Linked DNA regions of Homo sapiens: all the other regions are linked to region 7. Evidence: promoter capture Hi-C in 16 types of primary human blood cells and fetal thymus (Javierre and others, 2016). All regions are on one chromosome and are shown on one strand. The core of a region is centred on a gene start or on the middle of the fragment in contact, and the rest is flanking DNA. Distances in the headings are between cores, read along the strand shown.

Region 1 (2,836 bases), core at 298-2,797, 690 kb before region 7:
AGAGACAGTTTAAGGGTCAGTCCAATGGAAAAAAGAGTTCTCAGAGCTTTCTTTAGCTTATTCTCATCAAAGAGCTTTCTCTGCAGAAGGAACCTACTGGTTCCTCCTTTCCAGTCCTAGAAATCCTGACCTAGAGTGGCTTAATCCTGCTAGCACCTCTCTCTCGCACTCTGGTGCCAAATGACTCCAGGAACTGGGCCATGATGTGGTGGGAATGACCTTACCCTGAGCATGTCACTCATGCATTGAACAACAGCTAAGAGCAGAGCTTAGAGCTTAGAGCTGGGCCCTGTAAGGTGAGAGGAATCACATCCTGCAGAAGTCTGTCCTGAGAAGCAGGTACTCCTGTCACAGCAGAGACACAGTGGATACCTGAGTAACAATAATACAAGACAGGACGTGGGAACAGCAAAAGATTTGGGTGTCAGAAGAGGCCGAGAACACTTCAGGCAGGAACATTCAGAGTTGTTCTTGGAGGAAGTAGGCACGAAGGCTGGGCAGGATTTCACGGGGCAGAGATGGAGCAAGCAATTGAAATGAAAGCCATGGCATGGGAAAAGGAGCACTGGCCACAGGGAGTGCAACGTTGTGATGCAAGGCCACTGTGGAGCCATTGCTAGCGTATTAACTGCAAAGTTTTGAATTGAATCAGAAGGGAATTGGAGGCCTCCAGACTAAGCATTTAGACACTTGAGGGGAATATTGACAACTGGGCCTCGGGAAGATTATTCTGGAAGATATCTTTACAATTACAAGATTGGAGCCTTTGGGAGAGGGATGATGTTTACGGGAGGATGGTATGTGTGCTAGTGTGTGTGTCTGTGTGTGGCTCTTGGACCCAACCTGACCACCTACTATCTAGAAGGTGAAGGACAACTAGAAAGTTTTGCTCAATTCCATCTTCTGCCACCACCAGAATGCCACCTCCCTGAGGGAAAAGGTTTTTGATCCTCAGTCAGGATTCTCAGCACCTCTTATCCGATAGCTTTGGAATGAATGGCAAGGCCTTCATAACAGCCACTGCAACTGCTGTCTCCTTTCCTTTGCTACCCCTCCCGCTCCAGCCATGCCAGCTTCCCCCAAGCCCTCCTGCGCTCCAGGCCCAACCTCCAAAGCCAGCAACTTGAACAGGAGTCCTCTGGCTTTGGAAAGGGGGCGGCTTACGTTTTCCTGCTCATGTTTCCTCCCCAGCAAAATTGCCCTCTACATAGAGAGGCCTCTCCTTGTGGACACCAGCAAAGCCACCGACCTCAGTGACAAACCCCAGGGAATCTCCCCAAGGAATCTCAAAGCGAGAGAGAGAGAGAGAGTCTTGAGAGAGAAAGAGAGAGAGAGAGAGTCTTGCTTTCGAACAAAGAAAAAGGAAATAAAAAGACCCGATAATCTCAAAAGGTTATTTGCTGCTTGAAATTTGTGATTCGGTGTATTCTACCCAGCAACTGCTGAGAAATAAGGTTCGACACCATTGGCTGGTTCACTCACACCCGGCCAATCCTGGGCTCTAAAATACTTAGGGAACTCTTGGGACTGTGGAAGCCCAGGAGACCAGATTTCGTTTCCTGCATCTCCAAACATGGCGACCTAGGAGAAGGGGAAGAACAATTTTTTCTCCTCTTTTGGGAAGGTTTGTGTCTAGTAGTGCCTGTGCCCCTGGGCAGATTGGAGAGAAGAGGGACGACTGGAGAATCGTCGAGAACCAGCGGAGAAAAGAAAAAGCAACGTTTAATTCTAGAAGGTAGGAAACGGAGGGGAGGCGCTACAGCTCCGGGGTGGGCACAGTAGGTGGGGGAAGCGGGGTCTGCTGTGGACACGAGACGGGGTCCTGGGACAGGGAAAGCCCACCGGTGGGGAGGCGCGGCCTCGCCTGTCTTTGCCTCAGGCTGCCCGGCCTGGGTCGCGGGGAGGAGGAAGTGAAGGGAGGAGGGTGTGGTAGAATCCAGCGACAACTGAAGAAACTGCATTCTGGCCAGAGAAGTGAGCCGAGGAGGGCGGAAAAAGGCCCCCTTGATCTTGGCATTGATGGCTTACTTCATGGAATGTTTAAGGAATCCCTCTCTCGGGACATACCTGAGCCTTCGGATGCAGGGGACTCCCTGAAGTTGGGGCACTGATGAGACCTACTTGAGTGACGGGAGAGGTTGGGCCCGACCAGCACTGAGGTGCCAAGACTCCTAGGCTGATTCTCCTCTGTAACCCTAGGCCTCCTGTCCCTGCCTGCTCTGGGTGCTCATGGAATCAGCTGCTGCCCTGCACTTCTCCCGGCCAGCCTCCCTCCTCCTCCTCCTCCTCAGCCTGTGTGCACTGGTCTCAGGTAGGGATGTGTGCCACTTGCTGCTGTCACCTATCAGAAAGGAACATCAACCCTGTAGTCTGCAAAGGGAAAGAAAGAAGGACTGTGGAGTTGTTGACTTACCCTTTCATTCTGAACATGTTCATTGAATTTATACCAGCACTGTCCAAAAGGAATACAGTGAGGCACAAAGGCCGAGTGCATGTACAATTGCAAATTTTCAAAAAAAATTAAATTTTACTTTTTATTTTAAAAAGTAAAAAGAAACATGAAATAAATTTGTATACTATATTTTGTTTCGCCCCAAATAATCAAATACGAATATTTAAATACTTAGTTAATATACCATATTACCAATGAGATAGTCAACATTTTGAAATTTTAAATCTTCATAATCCTGTGTGTATTTTACACTTACAGCTCATTTCAGTTGGAACTAGCTAGTGGATATGTGTCCTATTGCACGGCTCAAGTTTACAGTACACTCAGGCACAGCACTAGATTGGGAAATCGAGGAAAATCCCCTCAAGGGCACAGGGTGGACAG
Region 2 (2,957 bases), core at 82-2,581, 560 kb before region 7:
CCCAGACTCTCCCGCAAACTGCAGACTGATCCTACTGCAGTATTCCTACCTACTCATCATCTCCACTTAGAAGCTAATAATCATCAAAACTGGACTCCTTATCTCATTCCCTCCCAAATCTGTCGCACCCACAGTCACCCTCACTCCATTCCATCCTTCACAGTTCTCTGGTCAGATACCTGGGAGTCAGCCTGATTCTTCTTTGTGTCGCATTCCGCATCAATTTATTGGGTGATTCTGTTGCTTCTATCTTCACTACATATCCATGATCTTACAGCATCTCACCACTCTTACTGCCACAACTCCTTTTGGAGACATCGTAATTTTCGCCTGAATCAATCTTGCCTTCCTGCTTCTGCCCCTGACTACTTACCTATTCTTCCACAGCATATTGGATGACCTTTCAAAAACCTACTGTTTTTTTTCTGGGGTGGGGTGGGGTGGGGTGGTTTATTCAAGGATTTAGGGGCAAGTGGTTTAATCCAGAAAACACTGGTGTGGAAAAAACAAAGTGAAAAAGAAAAGAAAAGAAACCAAGGAATACCACTCTGGGCTATTCAAGCTTAATCCTTCTTAACCCCTCTTAATCCTCAGAGGAGGAACTCTGGGAAACAATGTTGAAAATATGCCTAAAAATGATCAAACTTCAAGGGTAAGGGAGCTGGGATAGTCATACACCATTTACCAAAAATTGCTTGGGAGCTATTCTAAACCTCCAATTCAGTGGAACATCTGGCCTGCCATGAATGTGGGCAAAGTGTGATCAGCAGGTGGGGAAAGCTCTCATGCGATAAGATGCAAGTACCGGCAGGTAGAAATCAGCCTGGTGGACATTGACATGGTGAAGGTCAGGGGGATATGGGGGGGGCTTCTTGGTGGGATGCCAGAGGTAATATGGTGAGGCTCCAACATCTTCAATGTGGAGTTGATCCTTGATCCTTGGTCTTCAAAGTTGGTCAGTGGCCAGGTGCCGTGGCTCATGCCTGTAATCTTAGCAGTTTCTGAGGCAGGTGGATCACTTGAGGTCAGGAGTTCAAGACTAGCCTAGCCAACATGCTGAAACCCCGTCTCTACTAAAAATACAAAAATTAGTCGGGCGTGGTAGCACATGCCTGTAATCCCAGCTACTAGGGAGGCTGAGGCAGGAGAATCACTTGAACCCGCGAGGTGGAGGTTGCAGTGAGCCAAGATCACACCACTTCACTCCAGCCTGGGCAAAAGAGCGAAACTCCATCTCACGTACACACACAAAGTAATAATAATAGTAATAATAATAATAAAATAAAAGTTGGTCAGTGGTCAATACATTTTCCAGGTCATTCCTGGGAGAATAAACAGTTTAAAAAAGGCTCAGATATCTTAGAGAGCCTGAGATGTTCCTAGAACTGAAACCAGTGTTGTACAAAAGGAACACTGATGTTGAAGAACTACTGCTGGATTAGAAGGAGTTAGGAGTATTAGGAAGCCCTACCTGCCATTGGGAATAAAAGTAGAAGATAAGACAATGATCAGGTTCCTTGTAGCTATTTTAGCCATGAAAATAGAAACTTTAGACCAGATACAGCATGCATATATAAGATAGTCATGTAACTTTCCATTGAATGTGATGCTCAGTCTATTTACTAATAATAATTAGGCATAAAACTCAACATTAAGAAATGATCTCGCATGGTAATTTTCAGGTGCAGCAAGGATTTAAGAGGCTAAGATTTTATGATTCATGCTACAATTTTCTATTTGTCTTAGGGAAGATCTGTCCCCAAAGAAGCAAATGGTTGGTAGAAGTTATGAGGGAAAAAGGAAAGCAATCTGAATTGTGGGTGCTGTGGCAAGGGAGAAAAGGAGAAAAAGGACAGTCACTATGGCTGCATATGGGGCCAAGAGACAGAGCAGGTGAAATGCCTCTTGTGTCTAATAATTATTTTTGCTGTAATCCTAATGACTGAACTTTCCAGGCTTGAAAAACTGCCATAGTATTTTAAAATCCCAATCTTAGATCTGTGTTCATTCTAATTTTGAGATTTTTACTACTTTTAGCTCAATACATTTAAATGTTCTAGAATTCTACCACAAAGAACCAAAGAAACTTTAGACATTTTCCTAAGCTTATCATAATATAAAGTGATATTAGGCTGTACGTAGACCACTGGCAATACTTCACTAAGCTTTTTCTTGGGATATGTTGATATTAATATATTAAAATATATATGTATATTTAAAAACCTGTTTTCTATGAACACTTTTAGCATACCTCTTAGTGCTCAAGTTCACACAATTTTGTTGGATATTTACCTAGAAAGGAATCTGGTCTTCTTAATGAATTCATACTTCTGAATTTCCTGGATGTATCCATCTGGATACATTAGCTTATGCTGCAATAATAAGTAATTCCTCTCCCCCACGCCAAATCATACTGGCTTATAACCATAAACTCCTATTTCTGTGTCATAAAAATCTATCATGATTTGGTTGGTGGTCTCTATTTCACTAATAAACCCTGATTTGTAGATCCTCTACAATCAAAATAATCAATTATTTTGTCAAGGTAAGGTAAAAAGGGACCCGATAGATTGCTCACTGACTCTCAAACATCTGGAAGGGACACCTCATTTTCCAGAACAAATGTGTCATATGTCCACATCTATTTCTGAGGAAGTAAGAACTACAATCTGCACATGCTACGTTACTAGAAGACTGTGGATCAGAATGACCATATGACCATCACAGAGCACCATAGGGCCACCAATTATTCTGGCTGCTCTCCTTCCTAAAAGCCAAATACATTTAGCTTTTCCCTATGGGAGACAACACAAAGGTCCATTAGAACATGGGCCAGTTGGAAGTCTAGCATCTCTGAACCATGGTGGTCCCTCCATTGATGAAGGATTGCAGTAGTTTCTATGTTGATTTTCATAAAAGCAGCTAGGCAAGTTTCCCAAATCTGAAACTTAGTGCAA
Region 3 (3,126 bases), core at 456-2,955, 740 kb after region 7:
CAAGTAGGACTTAGCCAGCTTGGCAAACATTTCGGTTTTCAGGGTCTCTTTGGCTCCTAGTTTGTGCAGCTATTTCAACAGTTTCCTTTTTGCTAGTCATGTGAAACTACTGCATGGAATCTTCTATTCTCTTGTGACCACCCTATATTATTTCTCTCTCAGAAGGGCCAAATAATTGACGTTTTTATGCCATTCTGAGACTACAGAAAGAAAAAAGGTCTTGAGACTTCTGGGGGTTTGGAGGAGGTGGTGACACATGTTGTAGGAGGGTGAAGGAGGAAGGGCAAAGGCACCAGGGGAGGAAAGGCAAAGGTTTTCTTGTTATGTAGATAAAGTCTCTCAGGTAATCGCAGAATAGCTGACAGCCTGTGACAAAGTAGTTTTCTCTCCTTTGAGTCAGTCTTAGATTCCTCTTTAGGCAGGAAAGGGAGCCTCAGAGAAAGCCAGTACTTGCATCCACTGTTTACTAATGTAGATTTCCTTGATAGGTATACAATTCTTTTACAAAAAAGAGCTTTTCAGAGCTATTCCTATTTCTGCAGTTTCTCTGAATAGCCATCTTGAAATATGACAAAGTATACTTCGGGGTGGCATATTTTAGTCTCCCACAAGAGCCACTCCAAACTAAGATTCAGAGATAAAATCAGGTTCAATAAATATTTTTTGTGTACCTAATGTGTTTTCTGGGGCACTGTCCAAGGCCCTAGAATATATTACTGCATTTAACCTTTAAAGCAGTCTCTTGAGGAAAGTAAAGTGAAGGAAATAAAAATATTTTACCCCAAAAGATATTTCTTTGCCCTATTTTGAAATGGCTGCCTCAGGGCCCGGAGACCGATGAGGCCCTGCAAATCAGTCTTTTGTGGGGGAAATTTCCATTTGTTGCCAGGCTTTCCCTTTCTAGTCCTTTCCTGGATCTAGGAGAGATTAACTGAGAGTCTGATCCTTTTTTATTTTTATTTTTTAAGAGACTGTCTTGCTCTGTCACCCAGGCTGGAGTGCAATTGTGCAATCATAGTTCACTGCATCCTTGAACTCGTGGGCTCAGGCAATCTTCCTGCCTCAGCCTTCTGAGCAGCTAGAACTACAGTTGTGCGCTGCAACACCCACCTTTCTTTTTATTTGTTTTTCGTAGAGACAGGATTTTGCTGTTACCCAGGCTGATCTCAAACTCCTGGGCTCAGGGAATCCTCCTTCCACTGCCTCCCAAAGTGGAGGGCATGAGCCACCACGCCCACCCTGACAAGAGACATTTACCATCTATTTTTTCTGAGGACTACTAGCTATGTGTTTTCATCTACATAACAAGACCCGCCCCCCTTGCTAGCCAAGTCTCTTCCTTTCTCCCTCCTATAATCTGTTTTCCCAGGTTCCAAGCTTGCACTCTTTCTATAATCTCAAGGTGATATATAAACTTCTGTATCTCATTGGTGGGTGGGTCCTCATTTTGAAGTCTCCCGTGTCTATGTGCTAAATCAACCGGCCTCATGTCCGTGATTTTCAGCAAGCTTCCAGGGGACCCAAGGGCAGTGCCCGTTTCAGTTAAAAATGGCATCTCATTTAACCTGTAATCTAATTGTTAGTTATGGGGTTCTGGAGATGCTATCCCCAAAGGACAGCATGTGCAGGAAGGACTTTGGCTTTCCCCTTGAAGCGGATTGACCTTGGATATAGATTTGCTGACTTTCCTCGGAGAAAGTGAGACCCTTGTGAGATGGGTCACAGAGGACAAGTGAAAAGGACCGTCTTAGAAGACAAAGGACACTGCAAGGAATCAGAATGAACAACCCTTGACGACTTTCCGCCAGTTTATCCCTGCTTTAAAGTTGATTTAAGACAGTCGACCAATGGTGTGACAGCTATCCTCAGTGAGAATGTAAGTGGCTCTGAAAAGAGCCTTTGGAAGCTTGGAAGCAATTAAGAAACCCAAGATAGAGCAGGGGATTATGCTCGCTCGCCACGGATACGACGCGCAAGCTGGATGTCCTTAGGCATAATAGTGACACGCTTGGCGTGAATAGCACAGAGGTTGGTGTCTTCAAAGAGACCCACCAGATAGGCCTCGCACGCCTCTTGCAGCGCCATCACCGCCGAGCTCTGGAAACGAAGGTCGGTTTTGAAATCCTGCGCGATTTCTCGCACCAGGCGCTGAAATGGCAGTTTGCGGATGAGCAGCTCAGTCGACTTCTGATAACGGCGGATCTCACGCAAGGCCACGGTGCCTGGCCTGTAGCGGTGGGGCTTCTTCACACCGCCAGTCGCTGGAGCGCTTTTGCGCGCTGCCTTGGTGGCCAGCTGCTTCCGCGGTGCCTTGCCGCCGGTAGACTTGCGAGCTGTCTGCTTCGTCCGGGCCATAGTTGAGAAAGCTATGCTCTGAAAGCAAGCAGCTGAATGAGCAGTGGCTTCTACCAGAATTTATAACGATGATCTGATCCTGATTGGTCAGAACTGTTGTAGGAAAAACCTGGTTGGTTGTTAATACTATCTTCATTTGGTTCCTGCCACTTTTTTTTTTTTTTTTTTTTTTTTACCTGACGGCTTCTAATTCTGTCGCCTAGGCTGGAGTGTGGTGGCGCGATCTCAGCTCACTGCAACCTCCGCCTCCCGGGTTCAAGCGATTCTGCCTCAGCCTCCGGAGTAGCTGGGACTACAGGCACTTGCCACGACGCCCGGCTAATTTTTTTTTAGCAGAGAAGGGGTTTCACCATGTTGGCCAGGCTGGTCTCAAACTCCTGATCTCAAGTTATCCGCCTGCCTCGGACTTCCAAAGTGCTTAGATTACAGGCGTGAGCCACTGCGCTCGTCCTCCGCGCCACTTTTATTTATTGTTTTCAACCAATCATGTTAAGATTCCCCCAATGAAAAGATAATCTGACCTAGAATTTGTGTAGGTCAGTCGTAGTCTTAAACTCATTTCCAATGGGTCATTTTTCCTATTTCGGATCGTGTAAAAATACATACAGTAGAACAACGTATTTGCTAGTATTTCCAAAAAGTAGTTCCGTTTTGTAACTGCTTAATTAAATCTTTTAATGACTGTACCAAGACCCAGAACAAAAACAATTTAAACTTAGGCTGGCACATTCTCTAAAACACCAAAACTTTAGTTTTGTCCAGTGTGGTGTG
Region 4 (3,176 bases), core at 420-2,919, 770 kb after region 7:
AAGATTTCAAGGCTATGCTATTTTGAGAGTTCATAAAAGATCAGTTCTTAAGACTTGTGCAATGAATATATTTAGGCAGTAGAAAACAGATATAGTTCTCTGTCGACATTTTATTTGAAGATCACTATAATAGTTTTTCTAAGAATAGTAATAATAAAGCAATTTGGAGAGAATTAAATTATAAGCTATGTAAAATTGAAGTCTTTAAAAGGCCTATAATTTGAGAATTCCTTTTTTTTTTATTAACACCCTTGCAAGCAACCTCTCAAAAGCTCCCTTTACATCTTTGTTTCTATGTGTGTGTGTGTATGTATGTATGTGTGTGTGCGTGTGTGTATTACTGAAGAGATGATTTCTGGATCAGAAAGGTCTAGTTTACACTGAATTGTACAAACATTGATGTAAAGTGTGACAACCCTTGAAAATGTTGTGATTACAGTTTTTGGTGCATTGGAAGGCCAATTCTGGGGGCTTGTTCAATGAAAATGTTTAGGCAACAGAAACAAATATAGCTTTTTGTCAAGGAAATTTTCTTTGAGGGAGATTACAATAGTTTTCTATAGTAATGACAAAAATAGGACAACTTGCGGAGAAGTTAGTAAGGTAAGTAAGCACTGTGTCTTTAGCAAAGCTTATCATTTGCATATTTCTTATTTCTTGATTAAGAAGACTCTTTGCAACCAACCTTTTAAAGGCTTCCTTTACCTCTTTGTTCCTAAGTGTATATATAAGGGGATTCAGCATGGGTGCAATGATTCCACAGAAGAGAGAAACCATCTTTCCCCGGTCTTTGGAGCTGGGTGAAGGTGGTTGCAGGTACATGGAGATAGCTGTACCATAAAAAAGTGACACCACAATTAGATGGGAGCCACATGTCCCAAATGCCTTTCGTTGACCTTCAGCAGACTGGATTCTCAACACTGCTTGGACAATAAAAGCATACGATATAAGGATGAGTGTCACGGGTATTAGAAGGAATAGCACACTGATGAAGAATAGTTCAGCCTCATTTGCTGTTGTGTCAACACAGGACAACTTGAGCAGAGCAGGGACTTCACAGAAGAAGTGATCCACTTCTTTGTGACCACACAGTGGCATCTTAAGTGTCCAGGTGGACTGTAATACTGAATTGCTAAAGCCACTAATCCAGGATGCAGCTGCCAACTGGAAGCAGAGCCTCTGGTGCATGATAATTGAGTAATGGAGAGGCCGACAAATAGCTACAAACCTATCAAAGCACATGACGGCCAGGAGAAGACATTCTGTGGAACCCAAGGCCAGGAAAATGAAAAGCTGGGCCACACAGCCACCATAACTGATTACTTTCCTGGTGTTGCATATGTTTACCAGCATTTGTGGAACTGTACTTGTGGTATAGCAAAGGTCCAGGAGTGAGAGATTGCTAAGAAAAAAGTACATAGGGGTGTGGAGTTTGAAATCCACATGTGACACAAGAATTATTGTCAGATTGCCAAAGATTGTCAAGATATAGGAAAACAGAAACATCACAAAGGGTGGAATCTCTAGCCATGGTTGATCTGAGAAAACTAACAGAATGAACTCCTGTGGGACACTCTTATTTACCCAATTCATGTTAAATGGTTCAACTCTTCGTTCTCTGAAATATAAGAAGTCAGGAAGTTAACAACACACTTCCTGATTTTGTCAGCTATAATCATTTTGCTATCAATTTACATAAAATTACAGACTGATCCAATTAATAATGTGAAAAAAGTATTGATAAAAATATAAATATTTATCCATCCAAGTATTTAAAAAGTGTTTATATATCTGTAACAGCATATTAGCAAATTGAATCGAATTTCAAGAATCTTTTTTTTTTTTTTTTTTTTTTTTTTTGAGGCAGAGTTTCACTCTTTTGCCCAGGCTGGAGTGCAATGGCGCCATCTCGGCTCACCGCAACCTCCGCCTCCCAGGTTCAAGCAATTCTCCTGCCTCAGCCTCCCCAGTAGGTGGGATCACAGGCATGTGCCACCACCCCGACTAATTTTGTATTTTTAGTAGCGATGGGGTTTCTCCACGTTGGTCAGGTTGGTCTCAAACCCCAACCTCAGGTGATCTGCCCACCTCAGCCTCCCAAAGTGCTGGGATTACAGGCGTGAGCCACTGTGCCCAGCCTAATTTCAAAAATCTTAAGCCATATTTTCAGTTTCCAAATTCACATAATGTATCCTTTGATATTTTACTGTTTGTAAATGTATTTTTCTCATTCTTCCTACCTAGATATCTACTGTGAGGTAGATGTAGATACAGTTTCCTGTCATTTGAATTCATTCTAATTTCTCTTCAAGGCCAGCGAGATTCCCTGATTGTAGAAATCAGTTAACATTAGTTAAAGCCACCTCCCATTATTCCCCTTCCCTCAAAAAAGCCATGTAGACAGTATCTAGTAAGTTATCAGACACAATTTAAGGAGACATATCCTTTTCGTTCTAGAAGCTCATAGAATTTGTATAGATTCCTTAGTAATATGATATTTGAAGGTGACAGGCTGGTCTCATATCCCTACCCTCTCTAATTAGTTACATTCATTATATTGGAATGCTTCTAACCCTTTGATCTCCACAATTCTCATTTGTAAAATGAAGATGATACAGTGGTTCCCCCTTTATCCATGGGGGATACATTCCAAGACCACCAGTGGATAGAAACCTGAAACTGTGGGTAGTACCAAACCCTATATATACTATGTTTTTTAATACATACACAACTATAACGTTTAATTTATAAATTAGGCACAGTAAGAGATTAAGAACAATAATTAATAAAATGCAGCAAGTATAACAGCTCCAGACCCCCATTTATTGTAATACATGTTATGTGAATGTGGTGTCCCTCTCTTTTTTTCTCTTCAAAACACCTTATTCTAGTGTACTCACCCCTCTGTGTTCTGACGATCTGATAACCGAGATGGCTACTCAGTGACTAACAGGCAGGTGGATGCTTTAAATCAAGCTTGTCCAACCTGAGGCCCACGGGCTGCATGCAGCCCAGGATGGCTTTGAACGCAGCCCAGGATGGCTTTGAACGTGGCCTAACACAAATTTGTAAACTTTCTTAAAACATCATGACATTCACTGATGATTAAAAAAAAACTCATCAGCTATTGTTAGTGTTGCTGTATTTTATGTGAGACCCAAGACAATTCTTCTTCT
Region 5 (2,936 bases), core at 297-2,796, 610 kb before region 7:
AGAATACCAGCCAGAGTCCTTACAAGAGCCTGTAAAGCTGGCCAGAGTCCTTACAAGGGCCTATAAAGCTGGAGGTGGTCTCCCAGGATCTCCTATTCCTCTCCACTGAGCACCGGCCTCCTCAACATAACTCCCAAGCCTGCTTCCACCTCCAGGCCTTTTCCCTAGCGATTTTTCCCTGTTCCAGATCACTCATTTCCCCGATATCAGCATTTATCCCTCATTCATCACTTTCACTGCTGGCCTTTCCTATCCTCTTTCCCTGTTTTATTATTATTTTTCTCCAATCGCTTATCACTATTATTTTGTTTATTTAATGCTTTATTATCCGCTTCCGCCACTGCCATGTAATCTTGAGGGCAAGGGTCTCTCATGTTTTCTTCACCGTTATCTGCAGTGCCTTGAACACTAATACTGGTTGAATGAACGAACGCATTAATGGAGCGGTGATATTGGGGCAGAGAGGATGCAGGGCTTGCTTTTCACCGCCATTTTTCAGCCGGCAGAGACAGACCGAGAAAGGAATGAAGGCCACGGGGCGTGTGCAGAAGTAGCTACCAGAGAGTCCATGCGCTGCGAGCCTGGACCAGCGGGCAAACGCGGCTTACAGGCGTTCACCCAGATATTACGGGTACAACCTAGTTTCTTATGAAATACCTCGCCCCTAAGGTACGCGCAGGGCCAGTGGCGCAATGGATAACGCGTCTGACTACGGATCAGAAGATTCCAGGTTCGACTCCTGGCTGGCTCGGTGTAAGCAGGGTCGTTTTACAACTTTCTGACTCCGCAGGAGTAAGGAAATTCCTGCAAGATAAATTTGCCTGGAAGACTCAGAAGCAAGAGGGGCAGCTCCCGACAACATATGGGGTTATCATTTCTTTGCGGAGCATTCTGCCACTGACCACGTGGTAACGCCAACTACGCCAGAGAAACGCTCGCCCTACCCAAGTTGTGCCCAGCCTTGCCTGGCCATTTTGGCCGAAGAACGAAGGACCGTTCAGAGATTAAATTAAAGTCTCTATTGTGTTCTTCCCTATTCAGTCATTTGTAGAATAAATTCTATGGCTTCAGTTTGAACACTGGAGGGGCTGGGTCTGAGCTTTTCATTGGTTTTTCTGGTTTGAGAGGTCGGTACAGAGACGCACGCGCACATCAGCAAAACACGCACTTGGAACGAAGAAACACGGAACTAGGCAGGAAGAACTATTTACTCTGAAAAATAAGCCCTTAGTGGGTTTCCGTAGTGTAGTGGTTATCACGTTCGCCTCACACGCGAAAGGTCCCCGGTTCGAAACCGGGCGGAAACACGTTTTTTTTTCCTCATCTTACTACGAAATTCTTCCAGTGTGTATCTTTTAAAGACTTTTTCAGGCTGTCATAAATTTCCTGTCTTCTTGTCTTGCTAGATCGGGGCAGCAGTGCTTAGGGCGGGCCTCAGAGGCTCACACACGTATCGCCAGGGGGAGAACCAGCTCTCTCCGGCTTGGACTCGGGGCGGCTCCCCGCCTGCAGCCCCGGAAGCGCATCCTCACCTTCCCTCGCCTTCCTGTTCCTGGCGGAGCCGGGCTCCGCTCGTCTTCTCTGTCTTAGGGCTGGTGCTGGCCCTGCCCACGCCTAGGGCTCCGGCGCGTCACGGGCCTCAGCTGGGATTCCCGCGCCCCTCGGACGGCCACGAGACTCGGGTAAGTGCCTCACAGACTTTGTGCGCTACCCCGGAAAATGAGGGGCGTGGTGGGGGGGGTCCCGCCGCCCTCCGTATACTTAGGACCCTCCTGCCAGCTGGCCCCGGTCATGATTAGGGGCCTTGGGCCCCGTCAGCCCCGCCTGTCTTCCCGTCTCCAGAGTAATCGCAGCATCTCTCCTGAGCTCCGAGTGTGAATCCCTGGGAAAAGCTGAATCCAGAGGTGGGGTCACAGAGAGCCGCAGGCCCGACCGGGATGAGAAGTCCTAATCGGCGTTCTAGGGGCGTTCTAAAAGAAGGAAGGAAGGGGATTTGAAAGGATTGCTCCCGCAGGGCTGTGGCCTTAAAGAGGTGGTGACTGGCAGGTTGGACTGACCTGCCGTGGGCTCTCCCTTCCTCCCCAATTTACCTTCGAGAAACCCTCGTTGAGGAGACACCCAAGGGCTGAGTCCTCCTCCACTTTGACCTTTTGCTATTCCATCACAAAGAAAAAATGGATCCCAAAGTTAAGAAATGGACCAGCACTTGTTTAGAATCAGGACTGGTGCCTTGGTGTTTGGCCTCTTACCTCTGCCACATGGCTTGCTTACAAGTTAATCGGATTAATCAAACGCTTTTATGAGAAAGTTTTGTTGTGTCACCTGGCAGCCTCGGGTGTTCCCTAAGAGGGATTTCTTTCTTAGATGTATTACTACTTTTTCTAGGGATTAGCCAAGCCTAGCCTCTCAGATCATATTGCTCCAGGTTCCCTCAAATGACTAATAAGAATGTGATGTGTTTGTTTTTGTTTGTTTGTTTTTGAGACGGAGTCTCACTCTGTTGTCCAGGCTGGGGTGCAATGGTGCGATCTCGCTCACTGCAACCTCCACCTCGATTCTTGTGCCTCAGGCTCCCGAGCAGCTGGGACTACAGGTGTGTAACACTACACCCGGATAATTTTTGTATTTTTAGTTGGAGACGGAGTTTCACCATATTGGCCAGGCTGGTCTCAAACTCCTGACCTCAAGTGATCCGCCCGCCTCGGCCTCCCAAAGTGCTGAGATTACAGGCATGAGCCACCGCGCCCAACCGAATGTGATATTTTTATGACCATGAGAAAAGAAGGGCTGCATTCTTTGGTGGGTCCGCAAAATTAAAAAAAAAAAAAAAAAAAGAAAAGAAAAGAAAGAAAAGGACAATGTTAATGAGCTGTTTTCTTTTTATCATTTTCTTAAACAGGCTGCTTGGGTAGACGTTGACTTGAAAGGTCCATTCT
Region 6 (3,133 bases), core at 443-2,942, 630 kb before region 7:
AATCGGTAGGCCTGAGAAGAACAGAATTTGCCTCTAATTGATTCCCTGGAGATGGGGATTTAATGCTTAATTTAAGGGATTAAACATTGTATTCTATCAATTGAACTCACGATGAAAGTATTATAGGTGTCTAAGAAAGCTGTTTCTAATGTCCACAGAAGCAAAATGACTTATCTAAGATTCTCCAGGTAGTGACCAGTTCTAGTTCTGTCTGAAATTCGTACTCAGGTCCCCTGACTTCCAGTCAGTGATATTCCGACCATGGCATCCTGACTGCTAACCCTTGCTAACAAAATTTGAAGTAGGTCACCTCTGACCTTTGTTTATGTTTAGAAAAGTTGTTGTGCTCAAGGCCTTCTATCAAGTACCCGCTGCGCCAGGTTTAGTAAAATACATAAGCTACTCCCCATTTTTGTTGTTGCTGTTTTTGCTTTTGCTTTTTAAAGTTTTTATTACAGTATAACATCCACACCGAAAAGTGCGCAAATCCTCCATAAACTCCGACAGAGAGGCAAGACAAGCCAGGCTTCCCACGCTCCTGTCCCCTCCACCGGCCCTGCCAAGGGTAACCACGTGCTGGGAGATTTGCAGCACAACGCAAAGGAGAAGGATTAGCGAGCACCTTGTTCCAGCAAAAACTGGAGCAAGCCTAAAACTTCCTGGGAATTAAGTGTAAATTTAAGCCAGGTATTCTAGTAATGTTGAGTTCAACAGGATTGCCATTATTTTAACTAGAATTCAGTTGAGAGCAGAGCGCCATCGCCGTCTTCCGCCTTAGTCACTCGGCCCTGGGCTGGCTCACGCCCGCCCCGCCCCCTCCCCGCCCCTCCCACGCCCGCCCCGCCCCTCCCACGCCCCCGCCCCCGTCCCGCTCCCCCTACCCCGACCCGCCCTCCCTCGCCCGCCGCCCCACCCGCCGCAGCCCTCCCCGCGCAGCCTGGGAGTGACTCGGCGTTCACTCGGGAGACGCCGCTCTGTGGCCCGGACAACCGGTCCTATGCAGCGCCGTCCGAGGCAGTTCGCGGAGAGGCGGCTTACCTTTTAACCCAGGAATGCCCATATCTTGAGAAAAAGAACAACAAGGGGGTGGGCGGGGGTGGGGACATGGGGTAGGGGGGCGGCTGGTGGATGGGGAACTAATAGCGTTTAGACAAGAGACAGAAGTGAGTCCTGAGCACAATGTAGCATAAGCGCGTCAGGATGGCCGAGCGGTCTAAGGCGCTGCGTTCAGGTCGCAGTCTCCCCTGGAGGCGTGGGTTCGAATCCCACTCCTGACAGTTCGTACTTTTAGTATTTAGACACAAATCGAGTTTAAGTTTACGCTACGTTTTCCTACCTGCTCTTTGTGACATGGTCTTCTCTCTTTTTAAAAAATAAATTTTCCGAGTTCCGGAATAAAAGCACTCTTTGTTTTTATTAGCCACTCCAAGGACAGCAAAAAGTACTCTGTACTCCGAAAATAATTTCAGAACCTACCGGTGTTTTGAAATCTCACCTCCTTTTTCCGTTTCTCCTCTGTCTCTAGTTGTCTTTCCCTCTCCCTCCTTCACAGGCAGAGTTGAATAAATGTTACTCTTCAGTTCATGGCTCATTACATTACTGCAGGGCTCCTCTTTATTTAGTTATAGTTATCTTTTTAATTCCATTTCTTCAGTCTCATTCCCCACCTCATCCTTACTCCCCGTAAGAAATCACTGCAAGAGTTCCGGTCTGGCAGAGAGCGCGGAGAGACGCAGAGCGCGGGCCGCTCCTCCAGGGCGCTCCAGGCCCTCCGGCCCCGGGTCGGCGGGTGAGCTAGGGGGCGCCCCGGGACAGGCCGCGCCCTCTGCCCTGCAGATACCGGAGGCCTCTGCTGTGGCTGCCCACTGGCTGGGCCCAGGCCTTGAAGCGGTGGCGAACGTCTCTTCCCTACCCTACCTCGGTGACTGATGGCGGCGGCGGCCTCTCCCAGTCCGGACCCTGCCGGCCGTCGGGTCTCCCGGCCCAAGCCTGCCGGGCCTGGACGAAACCCCCGCCGAGCAGCCTGGACGCAGCGCCTTTGGGTGGCGGCGGGAGTAGCGTGCCGGGAAGCATGGCGGCCGCTCGAACGCCGCGCGGCGGAGGGCGTTAGGGCATGGAGGGCCCGGGAAGGCGGCCTAGGGACGCAGGCAGGCTCGGCCGCCTCTTCAGGCCACGGAGCCGCCAGATCTGGGTCCCGGGTGACCACTCTGTCGCCATTGGGCGAGACCTACCTAGTCCTAACGACAACGGACAAAGGCCTTAACGGGCCTGGGAGGTGAGCGAAGTCCCGAACGACGACGGGTGGAACGGTTAGCGGCGATCGGGCGGTTGGTCTCCGTACTACCAGACCTTGCTGTCGGAAGAGACAAATGGTAGAATGACAGGCCACGTTTGGCCCGTTGGAAATGCCCTCCATCCTCTGGGAAGATTCACAGGCCGTTTACGGAAGGCCTGTGTATATAATATGAAAAAGCTGCTCTCAACTCCACCCCAACCTTTTAATAGAAAACATTTGTCACATCTAGCCCTTCTAGATGGAAAGAGGTTGCCGACGTATGATAGAGTTAGAAAGTCACACATCTTGTAAATTCTCATTTGTTTAAAAGAAATCATAGAAAATACATGTCTTCCGGAGTTGACTTTTGGAAACTGAGTTGTTAGACGGCCTCTAGAAGCGATACGTTCACGTTTGTTCAGTGGGTTAGATGACATGGAGCTCGAAGACCTGAGAAGGAAAAAAAGAAGGTTCTATGCTAGACTGGTCATATTTAGAAGACATTTTCATATTCTATCCATTGTTTTGTGTGCATTCGCTTCCTCACTACTATGTATGTAGTTGACAATGCTAAGCTTTTTTGAAATGTCTATTCTTTTTAGATATTCTGAAGTGTCTGATATATGTTAAAATTAGAGGTAGTAAAACCACATTTTGTAAATATCTTTTTGTTACAATTCATAGAAATGTTGTTTTTTGGGGGGAATGGCCAAATCACCTGTTGAGTAATACTCATTGTGTTTGTGCAGTAGTTCAGGGGAGGAGAGAGGAGGGGGAGGTGCAGAGAGCTCTATGCCATCCTGCTTACAGCGAGGCAAGATGAATCACTATGTCTGTGCATTTTGTTTTATCTATGTA
Region 7 (3,039 bases), core at 276-2,775:
ACACACACAAAATTCCCCTGTGAAACTGGCCTACATTTCTAAATCACAAATTTAGCCAGGTAACAACCTAGCTTAAAATTCGTGGACTCTTTCTTTCACTTGGTTCTTCCAAAAAAGTTTCACACTGCTCATCACCGGCATAGTCATTCTAGCCTCTAATCACACAATAAAACCCACCACCTAATTCTAACCCACCACCTAACACTTAGCTCAAACCCTGTGCTGCTGGGGAAGTTCCCTTCTCCTCTACTCCAACTTCTTGCTTCGGGGCGGACTGTCTCTAGTCTGTCTGTTGTCTCCCCTCTGAATCTACTTGCTTTTCATTTTCCTTTTCTATAAGCTTTCTTGTCAAAAGGAAAAATTACTGATTGGACCAATTGACGCTGAACATGCCTTAAAAACTAGTAAACTATTCCAAAAATCTCCGTGATGATTTCATGTTCCGTTTCTTCACTCCTGAGAAAAGCTGTGCTCCTCCCCTTACCCTTGCAGACTATCCTGCCTGGTGGTCTGGCATCTTCCCGATGTCCCGTGGGCTGCAGAGATGGAATCAGGGGGTGAGGGGGAAGCAAAGCAAGGCAGAGCTGGGTACAGCCTAGAAGAGGTTAAATAAGGTAACTGCTCGAGCGAAAGCCATACGTACTGGAACGCCATCGGGAACCAAATTTACTAATATATAAACTCACGTTAGAACGCCATTACATGGTGGAAAGTACACGTGACACAATAGGCTTTCAACAAGTTCTAACAGGAAGTCACAGCACTCGACACAACGGAAGTATCCATTTTCGCGCCAAGAGCCAGGAAGCACTTTCTGTTAACACAAGTTTCCTGCACATCCCTAATTTTTTAGGCGCCATATTCCTCACTCAGTACTAACAAAGTGTATGTGGCTTCTCCTTAGCCAGACTCGATTACAAGCACTGCATGCATTACTCAGTGTGATAAGATCATGATAATCCCTTTAAAAAGATCGCCCGAATTTAAGCCTGGATTAGGAACACGTGTTTACAGCTCTAATATCGATAATTTAAGTGGCTCTTAAAAGAGCCTTTGGGGTTGGGCTTTAAGACGCTTACTTGGCAAGTTTACTTAGCGCTGGTGTACTTGGTGACGGCCTTGGTGCCCTCGGACACGGCGTGCTTGGCCAACTCCCCGGGCAGCAGCAGGCGCACGGCCGTCTGGATCTCCCTGGAGGTGATGGTCGAGCGCTTGTTGTAATGCGCCAGGCGGGAAGCCTCACCCGCGATGCGTTCGAAGATGTCGTTGACGAAGGAGTTCATGATTCCCATGGCCTTAGAGGAGATGCCGGTGTCGGGGTGGACCTGCTTCAGCACCTTGTACACGTATACGGAGTAGCTCTCCTTGCGGCTGCGCTTGCGCTTCTTGCCGTCCTTCTTCTGCGCCTTAGTCACGGCTTTCTTCGAGCCCTTCTTGGGCGCGGGAGCGGACTTCGCTGGTTCCGGCATGTTGAAGGCGAACTACGAGCCTGAGACGAGCAGCAGATCGAGAAAACGGGAAGTAATGGGAGCAAGGTACCAGGAGTCGTTTTTATATAGGACCTCTCATGCAAATAAGGTGAAGAGTGAAAGTCCTGTATCTGATTGGTGGTTATTAGGGTGACGTCAGAGGTTAGTTATACCCAATCAACCCAATCTGCAAATCCAAAAGACGTACTTCCATTGGTTAAAACTAAGCTACAACCCTAACCAATGACATATCTTCTTTTTCGCGCCCAATAGTGTTTATAAAAGGCGCTGCCTTTCCTCGTTGGCTACTTTCAGTAAGTTGTGACCAGTATGTCTGGACGTGGCAAGCAAGGCGGTAAAGCTCGCGCCAAGGCCAAGACCCGCTCTTCTCGGGCTGGGCTTCAGTTCCCCGTGGGCCGAGTGCACCGCCTGCTCCGCAAGGGTAATTATGCCGAGCGGGTTGGAGCCGGCGCGCCAGTGTACCTGGCTGCGGTGCTGGAGTACCTGACCGCTGAGATCCTGGAGCTGGCTGGCAATGCGGCCCGCGACAACAAGAAGACCCGTATCATCCCGCGTCACCTCCAACTGGCCATCCGCAACGACGAGGAGCTCAACAAGCTGCTGGGCAAAGTCACCATCGCGCAGGGTGGTGTCTTGCCCAATATCCAGGCCGTGCTGCTGCCTAAGAAGACTGAGAGCCACCATAAGGCCAAATAAGGAGCGAGGTTGTGAAAACTGGAAAACAAAGGCTCTTTTCAGAGCCATTCTACACTGTCTTAGAGAAAGCTGGACACAGTCATGTTTGTTTCACTTCATGTTTGCTTCGCTAGATAACATTGTAAAGCGCTTCTTTCGCGGTTGGGCTGGAGCAACTCTTTACAATGTTTCTAAATTAACCCACTGGAAAGCAATGAAGACCCAAAAGTTGTTGTAGGATACTCCGGAGAAGCTTATTCAGCAGGGGTAATAAGTGAAATCAAACGTACAAATCCCTGAAATCTATTTACTAATTCCAGTGGTTTTTTTTTTTTTTTTTTTTTTTTTGAGATGGAGTCTCCAACAGGCTGGAGTGCAGTGGCGCGGCGCGATCTCGGCTCACTGCAACCTCCACCTCCCAGGTTCAAGCGATTCTCCTGTCTCGGCCTCCCGAATAGCTGGGATTACAGGCACACACCACCACGACCGGCTAGTTTTTTTGTATTTTTAGTGGAGACGGGGTTCCACCATGGTGGCCAGGCTGGTCTCGAACTCCTGACCTCAGGTGATCCGCCCGCCTCGGCCTCCCAAAGTGCTGGGATTACAGGCGTGAGCCACAGCGCCCGGCCTCCAGTGTAATAATTCTATTACATTAATAGTGTTGTCAAACAGCCATAAAAATGGGATATACTTGCCATTCTTTAAAGGCAAATTTTGCAATTCTAAGTATTCTTGAAAAGCAAGAAAGGGCAGCCTGATTCTTAAGTGGTCTAACTCTTAAGAGTAACTTTACCCAGGTGATGAAAGTCTAGTGACTCATTTGCATTAGAATTTGATTCCGATGGAAGGAGAATATGGGATGCAGAATTTCCTG

The links. Contacts are between HindIII fragments. The CHiCAGO score rates a contact against its expected background, and 5 or more counts as called.
Region 1: a contact is called between the fragment with the promoter of BTN2A1 here and the fragment with the promoter of H2BC12 in region 7, in 11 of 17 cell types (M0 macrophages, naive CD4 T cells, activated CD4 T cells and 8 more). The highest score is 14.8, in M0 macrophages.
Region 2: a contact is called between a fragment that was not itself captured here and the fragment with the promoter of H2BC12 in region 7, in 3 of 17 cell types (M0 macrophages, M2 macrophages and M1 macrophages). The highest score is 7.8, in M0 macrophages.
Region 3: a fragment that was not itself captured here is called in contact with the fragment with the promoter of H2BC12 in region 7 in 16 of 17 cell types (total CD8 T cells, naive CD4 T cells, non-activated CD4 T cells and 13 more); the score reaches 25.4 in total CD8 T cells.
Region 4: the fragment with the promoter of OR2B2 here is called in contact with the fragment with the promoter of H2BC12 in region 7 in 14 of 17 cell types (neutrophils, monocytes, naive CD8 T cells and 11 more); the score reaches 16.3 in neutrophils.
Region 5: the fragment with the promoter of HMGN4 here is called in contact with the fragment with the promoter of H2BC12 in region 7 in 15 of 17 cell types (M1 macrophages, M2 macrophages, naive CD8 T cells and 12 more); the score reaches 14.3 in M1 macrophages.
Region 6: the fragment with the promoter of HCG11 here is called in contact with the fragment with the promoter of H2BC12 in region 7 in 11 of 17 cell types (M0 macrophages, activated CD4 T cells, naive CD4 T cells and 8 more); the score reaches 11.8 in M0 macrophages.

The regions. Positions count from the first base shown.
Region 1 is chr6:26,456,408-26,459,243 of GRCh38, forward strand. It overlaps BTN2A1 (butyrophilin subfamily 2 member A1), which reads left to right and starts at 1,548. Exons shown (of 8, transcript NM_007049.5): 1 at 1,548-1,735; 2 at 2,200-2,311. The coding sequence starts at 2,230. RefSeq lists enhancers at 1,159-1,418, 1,579-1,738. The HindIII fragment of the contact is 11,033 bases long and covers 1-2,836 here.
Region 2 is chr6:26,583,509-26,586,465 of GRCh38, forward strand. No RefSeq gene overlaps it. Among named protein-coding and RNA genes, the nearest start is that of TRY-GTA3-1, 7.9 kb to the left of the region's middle. The HindIII fragment of the contact is 1,543 bases long and covers 561-2,103 here.
Region 3 is chr6:27,888,438-27,891,563 of GRCh38, forward strand. H3C12 (H3 clustered histone 12) reads right to left here and starts at 2,389. Exons shown (of 1, transcript NM_003535.3): 1 at 1,878-2,389. The coding sequence starts at 2,355. The coding sequence ends at 1,945. RefSeq lists enhancers at 691-1,335, 1,336-1,980, 1,622-1,921, 1,981-2,625, 2,142-2,361. The HindIII fragment of the contact is 398 bases long and covers 1,507-1,904 here.
Region 4 is chr6:27,910,727-27,913,902 of GRCh38, forward strand. It overlaps OR2B2 (olfactory receptor family 2 subfamily B member 2), which reads right to left and starts at 1,670. Exons shown (of 1, transcript NM_033057.2): 1 at 459-1,670. The coding sequence starts at 1,593. The coding sequence ends at 520. The HindIII fragment of the contact is 2,345 bases long and covers 630-2,974 here.
Region 5 is chr6:26,536,820-26,539,755 of GRCh38, forward strand. HMGN4 (high mobility group nucleosomal binding domain 4) reads left to right here and starts at 1,547. Exons shown (of 2, transcript NM_006353.3): 1 at 1,547-1,682. It overlaps TRR-ACG1-2 (tRNA-Arg (anticodon ACG) 1-2), which reads left to right and starts at 679; the gene lies at 679-751. TRV-CAC1-6 (tRNA-Val (anticodon CAC) 1-6) reads left to right here and starts at 1,235; the gene lies at 1,235-1,307. RefSeq lists enhancers at 1-497, 1,758-2,167 and silencers at 531-824, 1,218-1,267. The HindIII fragment of the contact is 7,010 bases long and covers 1-2,936 here.
Region 6 is chr6:26,520,014-26,523,146 of GRCh38, forward strand. It overlaps HCG11 (HLA complex group 11), which reads left to right and starts at 1,693. Exons shown (of 1, transcript NR_026790.1): 1 at 1,693-3,133. TRL-CAG1-7 (tRNA-Leu (anticodon CAG) 1-7) reads left to right here and starts at 1,195; the gene lies at 1,195-1,277. LOC107986583 (a long non-coding RNA gene) reads right to left here. Exons shown (of 4, transcript XR_001744057.3): 1 at 1,496-3,133. RefSeq lists silencers at 799-1,398, 1,629-2,148. The HindIII fragment of the contact is 10,867 bases long and covers 1-2,848 here.
Region 7 is chr6:27,145,330-27,148,368 of GRCh38, forward strand. H2BC12 (H2B clustered histone 12) reads right to left here and starts at 1,526. Exons shown (of 1, transcript NM_001312653.2): 1 at 1,032-1,526. The coding sequence starts at 1,469. The coding sequence ends at 1,089. H2AC12 (H2A clustered histone 12) reads left to right here and starts at 1,777. Exons shown (of 1, transcript NM_080596.3): 1 at 1,777-2,233. The coding sequence starts at 1,800. The coding sequence ends at 2,186. MIR3143 (microRNA 3143) reads left to right here and starts at 2,297; the gene lies at 2,297-2,359. RefSeq lists enhancers at 424-533, 953-1,869, 1,124-1,583, 1,914-2,163. The HindIII fragment of the contact is 2,078 bases long and covers 339-2,416 here.